Regions from separate parts of the Homo sapiens genome. Here regions 2, 3 and 4 are each linked to region 1. Evidence: promoter capture Hi-C in human tissues and cell types (Jung and others, 2019). All regions are on one chromosome and are shown on one strand. The core of a region is centred on a gene start or on the middle of the fragment in contact, and the rest is flanking DNA. Distances in the headings are between cores, read along the strand shown.

Evidence for each region. Contacts are between HindIII fragments. The study calls those that stand out against the background at their distance.
Region 2: a contact is called between a fragment that was not itself captured here and the fragment with the promoter of CAPZA3 in region 1, in 1 of the 25 tissues and cell types used here (thymus).
Region 3: a fragment that was not itself captured here is called in contact with the fragment with the promoter of CAPZA3 in region 1 in 4 of the 25 tissues and cell types used here (dorsolateral prefrontal cortex, mesenchymal stem cells, small bowel and 1 more).
Region 4: a fragment that was not itself captured here is called in contact with the fragment with the promoter of CAPZA3 in region 1 in 2 of the 25 tissues and cell types used here (dorsolateral prefrontal cortex and thymus).

Annotation. Positions count from the first base shown.
Region 1 is chr12:18,736,688-18,739,649 of GRCh38, reverse strand. It overlaps CAPZA3 (capping actin protein of muscle Z-line subunit alpha 3), which reads right to left and starts at 1,531. Exons shown (of 1, transcript NM_033328.3): 1 at 462-1,531. The coding sequence starts at 1,381. The coding sequence ends at 482. It overlaps PLCZ1 (phospholipase C zeta 1), which reads left to right and starts at 1,638. Exons shown (of 15, transcript NM_033123.4): 1 at 1,638-1,718; 2 at 2,141-2,289. The coding sequence starts at 2,279. The HindIII fragment of the contact is 1,043 bases long and covers 1,076-2,118 here.
Region 2 is chr12:18,675,096-18,678,057 of GRCh38, reverse strand. It overlaps a transcript of PIK3C2G not described here and a transcript of PLCZ1 not described here. Among named protein-coding and RNA genes, the nearest start is that of PLCZ1, 61 kb to the left of the region's middle. The HindIII fragment of the contact is 4,006 bases long and covers 1-2,962 here.
Region 3 is chr12:18,790,850-18,793,811 of GRCh38, reverse strand. The region is part of intron 2 of LOC102724227 (a long non-coding RNA gene); the gene reads right to left. Among named protein-coding and RNA genes, the nearest start is that of CAPZA3, 54 kb to the right of the region's middle. The HindIII fragment of the contact is 3,452 bases long and covers 1-2,962 here.
Region 4 is chr12:18,700,360-18,703,321 of GRCh38, reverse strand. PLCZ1 (phospholipase C zeta 1) reads left to right here. Exons shown (of 15, transcript NM_033123.4): 8 at 1,546-1,630; 9 at 1,754-1,821. It also overlaps a transcript of PIK3C2G not described here. Among named protein-coding and RNA genes, the nearest start is that of PLCZ1, 36 kb to the left of the region's middle. The HindIII fragment of the contact is 5,239 bases long and covers 1-2,962 here.

The DNA of each region.
Region 1 (2,962 bases), core at 282-2,781:
TTGAAATTCCCCATCTCGTGGATGGTCTAGGACTGAATTGAGTTATGTAAAATATCATTTGTGGAGTGATATTCATTTGTATACCTTTTCAGTTCGAAACAGTCAAAAGTCTCTCTCTCTCTCTCTCTCTCTCTCTCACACACACACACACACACACACACACACACGTACACACCCACACACAGCCTTAACCCTGGCCACCTCTATACTATTTCTGGAATCCCAGATTCTATAAAACTATTTTAGTTTCTAACAAATGTCTTGGTCTTTATGATGGTCACCACCATGAAACACAGTTACTTTACACTTTCTTGCCTTGTTCATAAATATTCCCCAAGTAAAATTACTTGCTACACTTTTCCCATTTAAATTTGCATTGGCTAAGTGAGAGACATCTCTACAGATTGCTCAATTTTAGGAAAATAACCATTCCCAAGAAACACAAACAAGTCAAATCAAGATAGTTACCAGGAGCAATTCTTTATATTATCCAGTTGCACAACACACTTCTTGAATAAATGACATATCCTAATTTAGGATACATCACCAGATTCAAGTCAGAGAGTATCCTGTGCCAGTCAATAAGAGTGCGGGTCACTGGAAGATCCCTTCGTAGAATTTTTCTCAGGGCTTCATTGGATAACTCCTGTAATTCTTCCAAGACTGCAGCTTGAAATTTGTTCTCTTGCTCTTCCACAAGCCTTGCAAAACTTAGAGCCAGTTGAGCTTGGTTAACTATTTCCAAGCTTTCTTTCAGGTCCTTGGATATTTCAATATGAAGGTTGACACACCTGAAGAAGTGAGCTTGCACAAATATTCTTCCCGTTACTTGGGTTAGAAATGGGTTAACTTGGAAAATCCATTTAGATTTCCAAAGTCCGTTCCAGCACTCTCCTGTTTCATAGTTGTGATCTTCAATGCAAGCTATCAAGTACTCCTTACTTTTGACAGTTTTTCTCAGCATGTTGCAATTTCCTTTTGGATAGTGGTCATTCACATACAGTTTTAAGGCGCACAGAAGAACAACTCTCAGGTATTCTGCCTCATTCTGAATGATACCATGACTTTGGATGTCTTTCAGCTGATTTTGAAGCAGGTCATATTTGAAAGAAAGTTTGCTTTGATGGTCAAAAAATCGGTAGTCGCCCATTACATTGTGGTGAGACAAGAGTACTGGATTTCCATCGATGCAGAGTGGTACAGAATATTTTTGGCAGTGTTGGTGGCCTGCACACTCACCTTGGTGGTGCATAAGTTTTTCATCACGGATAAGCAGACAGAGATCATCAAAGGCATTTACAAATTCCCCTGGAGGGGCCTGTAATAACAGTCTGCGAATTACTCTTTCCTTGTCCTTCCTGCTCAGCACGCTAAGTGTCATGTTTGGTTGCAACAGAAGCAAAGCTTCTGAAATGAGGAGTGTTCAAAGGATAAGAAAACATTCCATGAGCCACCTTTCCCATCAAGGTGTTAACATTCAAGCTGAAGGTTTTTATGTCTATCCATGAAAGCAGGCAGTCTGGCAAGGTCTGAGCCTCCTGATGAGGTCATAAGAAGCTTTCCTTGTGAAGTGTGGAACCTCTGATGATATCACAATGGGAATTCAGACCAAAAGGAAAAAATGACAGTCACCTGACAGTGTGGTGCCCAGCCAACCAGCTATACCTCTTTTGAAGATTTTAAGAACTTAGCCTCCTGAACAGTCTTCTTCGAAAGTGGTGTGTCTCTGTGTGCATTATATGTTGTCAACGATCTAGAGAAGCAGCCCAAAGTTTCAAGAGTGACAGCACTTTGCAACTTCAGGAATCACAATGGTGTTGATTTATACTCAGGCTCTCAGAGTAGCTGCCCAAACCCACTGGAAGCATATTATGATGAAAGGTTTGAGGGGTTTAAACAAAGTAGTAAAAAATAAAAGGAGATACAATGGCAGTTCATGGAAAAATGCCAGACATCAGGGAAAGCTGTGTTTTCAAATATTGTGGGTTTGGAGGTGGTCAGAACGTAAGAAGCCAAACAGTTTCAAGGGCAGGGTAGTGCAGGTACCACATCTTGCATACTGTTTCTATGGTTAAGTGTGAGCTAGCTTCAAAGAACGAAGGCAAAAAAAACCACTGTGTGTTCTCTGCTTTCTCCCTAGAAAAGTGGTAACAGCTGATGAGTATCAAGAAATTATTTTCTGCAAAGGGGCAGAGTTAATTGTATTTGGAACCCATGACAGCACCTACTGGGGAAAGACTTCTAAGTGAGGAGAAACGGCTCTACAGGTCATGAAACTATGGAAATGAGATATCCATTGAGAGCTTCTTTCTGCTCCTCTTCTTCTTTCTCCTACTTATCCTCTTTACTTGATGCTGTTATTCTTTTCGAGGAGTTCTGAATTTAAGTCCTCTTCATTTAAGTTGAACTGCTTTTCCCTGTTTGTTCTGAGCTTTTCTAACTTTCCCTGCATTCTGGTATCTTTTTCTTACAAGAACATGAGCTTTGCTGGATTAAGTCATAACTATTAAATTTAAGGAGATCTCATTAATTCGTTCTAACAATCTGAAACTTAGTAGTTTTGCACAATTTTTACCTATACCTTTTATAATTTTAGTGATAATTGTCATTATCTCATTTCGATCTTAGTTTTTCAAATGGAAGTGTCCTAGTTTTTGTAGTTTATCTATGATAAGTAAGCTTTTAAAAATTTTTTTCGTTTTTCATACCAAATATACACTCACCATGGTATTTCTGATGCTTTTTGATGGTACTGTCTTGAGTGTGTGTGTAGCTGGGCATTGGACTAATGTAGTAATAATAACTTTATCAGTCATGGTTACTATTTATTGAACACTAAGTAGCAGAAACTGTGTTCGGTGGCATATTAGGAATTCATCTAATGCTTCCACTTTCCTTAAGATTCAGGGTTAATTTGCTCACCTTTCTGGAAGAGAGAACTAAAACAGAGAGGTCAGGTGAG
Region 2 (2,962 bases), core at 187-2,686, 61 kb after region 1:
CAAATCCACATATCCACAATGTCATTCATTTAACCAATGAGAGTTATATTTCTCATATTCTTTATGCTAATTGACATACTCTCTTGATTGAAATACATTTATGTGCATCCACACACACAAACACACCACATACACAAGCACACATGAATATGGATACACATGCTCACACATAAATATCAGGTGTTTTATGACAAATTATTAAAGTACAATTTTAAAACCAAAATGGAAGGATAGATTTGTGCTTATATTTTTTAGATCTATCTACATGTTTAGAAAACACAAATAATTATTTTTGTTTTAAATGTAGACCAGTTGTTCTTAACCTTATCTGAACACTGGAATCATATAGAACATTTTAAAAATACTGATGTCTTTTCTCCCTTTTAAGAGATTCTGATGAAATTGGTGTGGCGTTCTGCTTCAGCTTTGTGATTTTTGAAAATTCTTTAGGTTATTCTAAAGCAGTGCTCTTAAAGCACTGCATTAGGTCCTCAGCCAGTGAAAACAGCATAGGGGACATTTTAAGAGACGAAAATTCACAGGCTTCACCCTAGACCTCCTGAACTGGAAACTCAGAAGGTCTGGCCAAGCAGTCTGCCTTCTAACCAGCCCTCTATGTGATTCAGATGCATGCTCAGATTTGAGAACCACTGTTCTAATCAGTGGTCAGGACTGAAAACAACTAGCCTTGCCTCTATTCATTACCGGTTTGATTGCACGGTGCTGATTCAGCCTATGTCGTGTGCCTGGCTTAGCTTTCTAGAAACTGTCTTGCTCGCCATCTTTCCTCAATTCATATGCTGGTTTAGATTTTGCTCTCTGGATTTAAAGTGCTCACATATTTGTGCATCATATTGTGGCAAGCAGCCTGACCAGGATCTGCTGTTGGAATATGACAGTATCTTGTGTTCAGCCAAAGCCCTGATACAGACTCCCCTTTTCTACATCAAACTTTCTGGAGAGACAGAGCTTTCTTCCCTGGTACCTTTTATTTTCCTTTTGGGAAAGAATCACTCTCATTCATCTTTATATTGTTCATGGTGATTTATGACAAATATCTGTTCAGTAAGCAACAAAGTTGTTTGAACCAGATGTTCTGGGAAATAAGAAAAACAGTTTTGCTTTTACAGTCTTTGGGAATCTGAAGTTTTAAAAAATGAGGAATGCATAGATCTTCCTGTTATTATTATTTTACATGGCTGTGATCAATCTTATATGTGTGTTTCCATTTCAGACCTCTTCCTAGCATAATCTTTCCCTTCTGACCTTCTAGTTTTTCTAACACCTATTACCTTTTAGGACTTTGCTGAAGAAAGAAAGGTAAGACAACAGGAATAGTTAAGTGGGCAGGCAAGTTAGTAATAATTCATTACATTTATAGTAATGCTTATACTATAGTCCTGCTTATTGTTCTACTTTCATCTTGCTAGACTGATTATTCTTTGTAGTCTACAACAGAGTCAGACAGTAAGAAATACACTCCCTTCTTAGACACCTAACTATAAAATGAACATAACTACCATGTATGTAAGTGATAACAGGAGAGAACAGAGTCCTCAGGTGGTTGAGAGTACTCAATGGGATACTAGCAAGGCAAATGCAGGCATTTTCACTGAAGAAGCAAGGGGTCAATGTACTGAGACTGATGCTCAGTTTGCTAAAGGGACATCTGCAAAAAAGCTGACTATGGGACATGGATTATATTAGATTCTTTCAGTTACAAAGTACACTGAACCTGGCTTGGTGGTTTAAGCAAATATAGACATTTATTAGCTCATATTGCTAAAGAGAACAGGTAAATCTGGTCTCAAAAGAGGCTTGACCTAAAGGTCAAACAACATGATTAGGACCTGGTTTCTTTCTCTTGTTTTTTCAGTTCCATGTATTCAGTTTTGGGTCCATTTTCTAGCTGTCTCTTGCCTCACAGTCCCAAGATGGCAATGTCTAAGGACACCCATGCAAAGCAGGAAGAATGAGAAAGACACAGGTCTATTGACTCGTGTTGATGGTATAATTTTTTTTCCTTTCTTTCAAAAAGTTTTTTTTTAAATAGATTCAGAAGGTATATGTTCAGGCTTGTTACCTGGCTATATAATTGTGATGTTTGAGTTTCTAATGTGCTTGTCATTTTAATAGTTAACATTGTACCCAAAAAGTAAAATCTCAAACCTCACCCCCCTCCCACCCTTCCCTTTTTGAGTCCCTAGTGTCTATTATTTACCTATCTGTTCATTTGTACTTATTGTTAGCTCCCTCTTATAAGTGAGAACATGTGGTATTTGATACTTCTGAGTTATTTCACTTAAAATAATGGACTCCAGCTCCATCCATGTTGCTGCAAAAGATATAATTTTATTCTTTTTCCTGGCTATGTAGTATTCCATGGTATAGATATATATATCACATTTTATTTACCCAATCAACCATTGATGAGCACTTACTTGGTTCTATGACTTTGCTATTGTGAATAGTGCAGTGACAAACATACAGGTGCAGGTATGTTTTTGATATAATCATTTCTTTTCCTTTGGGTGGATACCTAGTGGTGGAATTGCAGAGTTGAATGGTTGTTCTGCTTTTAGTTCTGTGAGAAATACCCATACTTTTTTCCACAGAGGTTGTACTAATTTACATTCCCACCAGCAGTGTATCAATATTCTCTTTTATCTGCATCCATGTGAAGATCTGTTGGTATAGTCTCAATGTACCTAGACTTCTATAATGGTTATAAAACTTTCCCCAAAACAGAGTGGCTTGAAACAGCCATCGATTTGTTTATGAGACTACAATTTGGCTGGACTAAGCTGATTTGCTGGTTTTACCAGGTGGGAGAGGGAGGAGGAGAGTTTACTCATGTGACTGTAGCCATCTAGACCAGCTCTGTCCAATTTGACTACTTATATTTAAATAAATTAAAATCAAATACAATTTAAAATTTTGTTCTCTAGCCACATTATTAATC
Region 3 (2,962 bases), core at 221-2,720, 54 kb before region 1:
ATGAAGTATATATATGAAGTATATATAGTTATATATATGAAATATACTATATAATAAAAGTATATATAGTTATATATATGAAATATACTATATAATAAAAATATAGTACATATAGTTATATATATTTATATATGTATAGTAACAAGTTATCTATCTATCTATCTATCTATATATATATAGTAACAAGTTATCAATGCTACTTGGTTCTTCAGTTTGAATCAATGGTATAGTGAGAATACCAATGCACAGGATTGGATTGGAAAGTCAGCCCCACATGAATCAGAGATCTTACCTTATATTACCCAAATGAAGTTAAGGAACAGGCACTCAGTCGGTTCAGATGCAGTGAGAAGTATTTTCCATGTTGGCTATGTTCCTCTGGCTCAGGATAGGCTGGTTTGCATTTGAGGTTATGGGAGTATCTCCCACAGTGGGAGATAGTCCAAGGGAATTGAATAGCCCACGAGGCATTCTCCAAGGGATCATGCCCCATAGATCCTGGATTCTATTTACTATAGGTAATCTGTAGCCAGAGACTTCCTGTTAAAGGCAATTCAGAAATAAGCTATCCTCTTCCTAATAAATTTCTGTAGTATATTTACCCAGTGGTACAGTTGACAAGGAGGAGGTCACCTGCCTTCTGCCAGGGAGTGGCTTATGAGAACATAGTACCCCCACCCCATGAAGAGAGTGAATGAATTGAAGGCCATCTGCTTTGACCTTTTCCTACCAGTTAATTAGTGTTTCTGGTGATCAATTTTTACTTATTTTTGTCTCCCCTTTCCCAAGCAAGCTTGTTTTTGCTCTTTGTTGTATCATTTCTTTTTTCCAACTTTATTTGGCCTAATTGTTTCTTTCCCAAATCTTAGGGTGGTGTCAGTTAGTACATATATTCAGAAAAGTACATTTGTTTTTAGATATTACTTTGGCAATACCTTATGAATTTTCATATGTTTTACTTATATTTTTACTGTTCAAATATTCTGATATCTTATTTCTTCCTTAAATAAGATTTTGAAGTGCTATTTTTAATTTTTAAATTATTAGATAACTTTTATTTTGTCTAATATTGCAATGAATGCTGTGAATGTAGCATATCAAGTTCTGCTTTTTGATATCTTCTAAGCAAATGCTTGAGTTTCAAAGTATCATGAATTTATGGTATCTGTAAACATTTATCAAGCACCTAAAATGAAGTATCACTGGAATGGAAGAAGTATCTCTGAATCCTCTTTCCTCTCATTTCTTAAAGATTTTGTGATCATATTTTCTTATGCTGGCATCATTATATTATCCTCTCTACTAAAGTATTCTAACTGGCATACCCCAGTATCTCTCATATATTAAATGGGATGGGAAAATTTGGGGACACTCAGTATGTTTCCTAATCCCCCAAACCTGTGGATCTGTTACCTTACATGGCAAAAGGGTCTTTAAAGATGTGACTTAGTTGAAGATCTTAAGATGAAGAGATTATCCTGGATTATTCTGGTGAGCCCAACACAATCACAAGGGTCCTTCTAAGAGGAAGGCAGGAGGTTCAGAGTCAGAGAAGAAACTGTGATTAAGGAAGCAGAAGCTTTGGAGTGAAGAGAGGCCATGAACCAAGGGATGCAGGTGGCTTCATATGTTGATTTTGCATCCTCCAACTTTACTGAATTTGATCAGTTCCAATAGTTTTTTTATGGAATGTTTAGCTTTTTCCAAGTATAAGATCATATCATCTGAAAACAGGGATAATTTGACTTCTCCTTTTTCAAACTGGATGCCCTTTATTTATTTCTCTTGTCTTATTGCTCTAGCTAGGAATTCCACTACTATGTTAAATAACAGTGGTGAAAGTGGGCATCCTTGTCATGTTCCCAATATTAGAGGAAAGGATTTCAGTTTTTCCCATTTAATATGATACTAGCTATGAGACTGTGTATATGCCTTTTATTATGTTGAGGTATGTTTCTTCTACACCCAGTGTTTTGAGGGTTTTCATCATAAAGGGATGTTGAATTTTATCAAATGCTTTTTCAGCATCAACTAAAATGATCATATGGATTTTGTCTTTTATTCTATTGATATGATGTATTGCATTAATTGATTTGCACATGTTGAACCATCCTTGAATCCCTGCAATAAATTCCACTTGATCATGATGAATGGTCTTTTAAGTGTTTTCTTGAATTCGGTTTGCTAGTATTTTGTCAAGGATTTTTGCATCAATACTTATCAGTGATATTGGCCTGTGGTTTTCTTTTTTTGATATGTCATTGTCTGGTTTTGATATCAGGGTAATACTGGCCTCACAGAATGAGTTTGAAAGTACTCACTCCTCCTCATTTTTTGGAACAGTGTGAGTAGCATTGGTATAAGTTCTTCTTAAAATGTTTGGTAGAATTCAGCAGTGAAGCCACTGGGTTTCTTGCTTTTCTTTTTTTTTATTATTTTATTTTATTATTATTATACTTTAAGTTTCAGGGTACATGTGCACAATGTGCAGGTTAGTTACATATGTATACATGTGCCATTCTGGTGTGCTGCACCCATTAACTCGTCATTTACCATTAAGTATATCTCCTAATGCTATCCCTCCCCGCTTCCCCGACCCCACAACAGTCCCCAGAGTGTGATGTTCCCCTTCCTGTGTCCATGTGTTCTCATTGTTCAATTCCCACCTATGAGTGAGAACATGCGGTGTTTGGTTTTTTGTTCTTGCGATAGTTTACTGAGAATGATGATTTCCAATTTCATCCATGTCCCTACAAAGGACATGTACTCATCATTTTTTATGGCTGCATAGTATTCCATGGTGTATATGTTCCACATTTTCTTAATCCAGTCTATCATTGTCGGACATTTGGGTTGGTTCCAATTCTTTGCTATTGTGAATAGTGCCGCAATAAACATACATGTGCATATGTCTTTATAGCAGCATGATTTATAGTCCTTTGGGTATATACCCAGTAATGGG
Region 4 (2,962 bases), core at 250-2,749, 36 kb after region 1:
CACTAGTGACAAGACATATAGGGCTGATGATAGAACTGAGACAGAAAAAAATGAACTGTGTGATAAATGGAAAGACCACGGTTCTTTTGTGGCATAAGAATGCCCACAGACTCAATGTGTTCAATTGTGGTGGAAAGAAATAGTAAAGAATTTCGAAACATATCATCAAAGATTAAACCCAAATCATAGTCCAATTCTGGAACTTATAATTTTCAGCTTTCTTGGAAGAGAATCCCGCTTCCTATTATATATGAATCTATTTTTCTAGCATTCCCGTACATAGCTTTCATTCAAATTTTAGCTCCATATTAAAGCAGGGAGGTGCTTTTCAATGAGTAAATAAAGAATTAAAGTTACCCTGTAATCCCAGCTACTTGGGAGGCTGAGGCAGGAGAATCTCTTGAACCCAGGAGGCGGAGGTTGCAGTGAGCTGAGATCATGTCACTGCACTCCATCCTGGGTGACAGAGTGAGACTCCGTCTCAAAAAAAAAAAAAAAAAAAAGTTACTTTATCCTACAATATTCAGTCCTTGTGTGTAAAAGAATTGCCTAGAGACTTGTTAAAGGAGGCCCAATTCCAGCCCCACAATTCAAGATTCTGATTCCCTTATTTTGAAGTAGATCCTAGGAATTTGTCCCTTTCCCAAGCACTTCTGATAATATTCTTGATACATGGGATTGCAGAGTGCATTTGGTAAACTCTGCAGTGGAGAGTATCATAAGGGTCATTGTGAAAGAGGGAAGACCCAAGATGATGGAATAATTTGAATGGATGCCTGAGGATGACAAAAGAGAAAGGACAATCAAAGCTCCCTGGAGAAAAGAACTTTACTTTATAACCCAGATTTCAGCATTGTATATAACAGAGCCGGTACTTAAATGTACTTGTTAAATTAAAGAAATTATCCTAAGGGCAGGAATAACCAAGTGAAAGAATGGAACCAGAAGCCTTCAAATTTAGAACAAGTGACACTGATGGTAAATTTTGCTATGCTTCTAAGTTTGAAGGACAGAAAATATTAAGTTAATGATGTTTATGTGTAATACAGAAGAAATTTGAAGAGCCTTTATTACGAATCTTTAATTTAGTCTATACTAGATGCCAGACACTTATGATAGACATTTTAATATACCTGATTTCATTTAATACTTTTTAATGTTGGATAAGAAAATGATGAGCTGAAGCGTTTACTACCAGAAGTTGTAACATTTTCATTGCAATATCATGGTAAGTATTTATATATATATACTTTTCACATATTTCAAATTGTTGGAATAGTACCAACTTGGGAAATATAAAAAAAATGGCATATGGTAAGTCTCAATCATAACAGGCTTATTTTTTGGTGAATTACAATCAATAGCATTATATCACTGTATTCATTCCTCTACTGAGATGTGAATAGGGGTATGGGAAAAAATGGAGTTCTTACATATCTTATTACTGTAGGCTAATTGGAAATATAGTGAAACACTTTTCAGTGACTGTTACAATGCAAATTTACTTGTAAATGTGTAATTGTATCTCTCAAATTGTTTCCTTAGGCACTAAAATTCAAAATATTAGTTAAAAATAAGAAAATAGGAACCTTAAAGGAAACCCATGAAAGAAAAGGTTCTGATAAGCGTGGTAAGGTGGAGGAATGGGAAGAAGAAGTGGCAGATGGAGAGGAGGAGGAGGAGGAGGAGGAGGAGGAGGAGGAGGAGGAGGAGGATAAATTCAAAGAATCAGAAGTATTGGAATCTGTTTTAGGAGACAATCAAGACAAGGAAACAGGGGTAAAAAAGTTACCTGGAGTAATGCTTTTCAAGAAAAAGAAGGTGAGGTGGTGTTTTGTGAAAATCTTACAAGTGATTGGAAAGTTTTCTAATTTTATTCTTGGAGATTTTTTTAAAATTCTGGAGAAAAATCATTTTCCTTCTTATAAAAACTCTAGTCTATCATTTACAATTTACTTTGAAAACATCGATGGTGGAAGATGAATTTTTTAAATTGCCTCTTTTCTTATGTTAGCTGCTTAAACATTTTTTTCTCTAGGCTGAGCACGGTGGCTCATGCCTGTAATCCCAGCACTTTGGGAGGCTGAGGTGGGCGGATCACATGAAGTCAGGAGTTTGAGATCAGCCTGGTCAACATGGTGAAACCCCGTCTCTACTAAAAATACAAAAATTAGCCGGGCATGGTGACGCATGCCTGTAGTTCCAACTACTTGTGACGCTGAAGCAGGAGAATTGCTTGAACCTGGGACGCGGATGTTGCAGTGAGCCGAGATCGAGCCATTGCACTCCAACCTGGGCAACAGAATGAGAGATCCTGTTTCAAAAAAAAAAAAAAAATCTCTATAATTGATAAATATTATGCATTCTTATGAAACAGGCTTTGTGCGAAGTGCAAAAGATGCAGAGATACACAACGTAATTTCCCTGGTCCCAAGTAAAGACAAAGACAAGATTCAATATTAATAATACATAATGTTATATGTATATACATTAGCATGATGAAAGAAAGTATATTAGGTTGCATGTGACACAAAACCAATCCAGCTGGTTTAAATAAAATGATAATTAATTAATTGGCCTACATAGATGAAAAGTTCAGTGAAAGGGATTTTAGTTTAAAAAATGACTTGATATAGTGTCTCACATAAAGTCAGCAGAACTTCAATTCTTTCTCCAGCTTTGCTCCCACTTTCTCTGTGTTGGTGCATGGCTATTGCAAGGAGTCAGCTTTATATCATTTCAGCTTCAAATCCAGTGGAATGCCTATCTCTTGGCAGAGCAACTATTTTTTTTTTTTTTTTTTTTTTTTGTACGTTGGCTCTGATCTGGTTATGCGCACATCCCAGAACCAATTACTGTTGCTAGGGGAATGCAAAGCTCTGTTTAGCTGGCCCAATCTGCCTGACTCATACTTGGATTGAGCATGAGCAAGAAATGTTTTCCCAAAACAAAACTTGGGAAA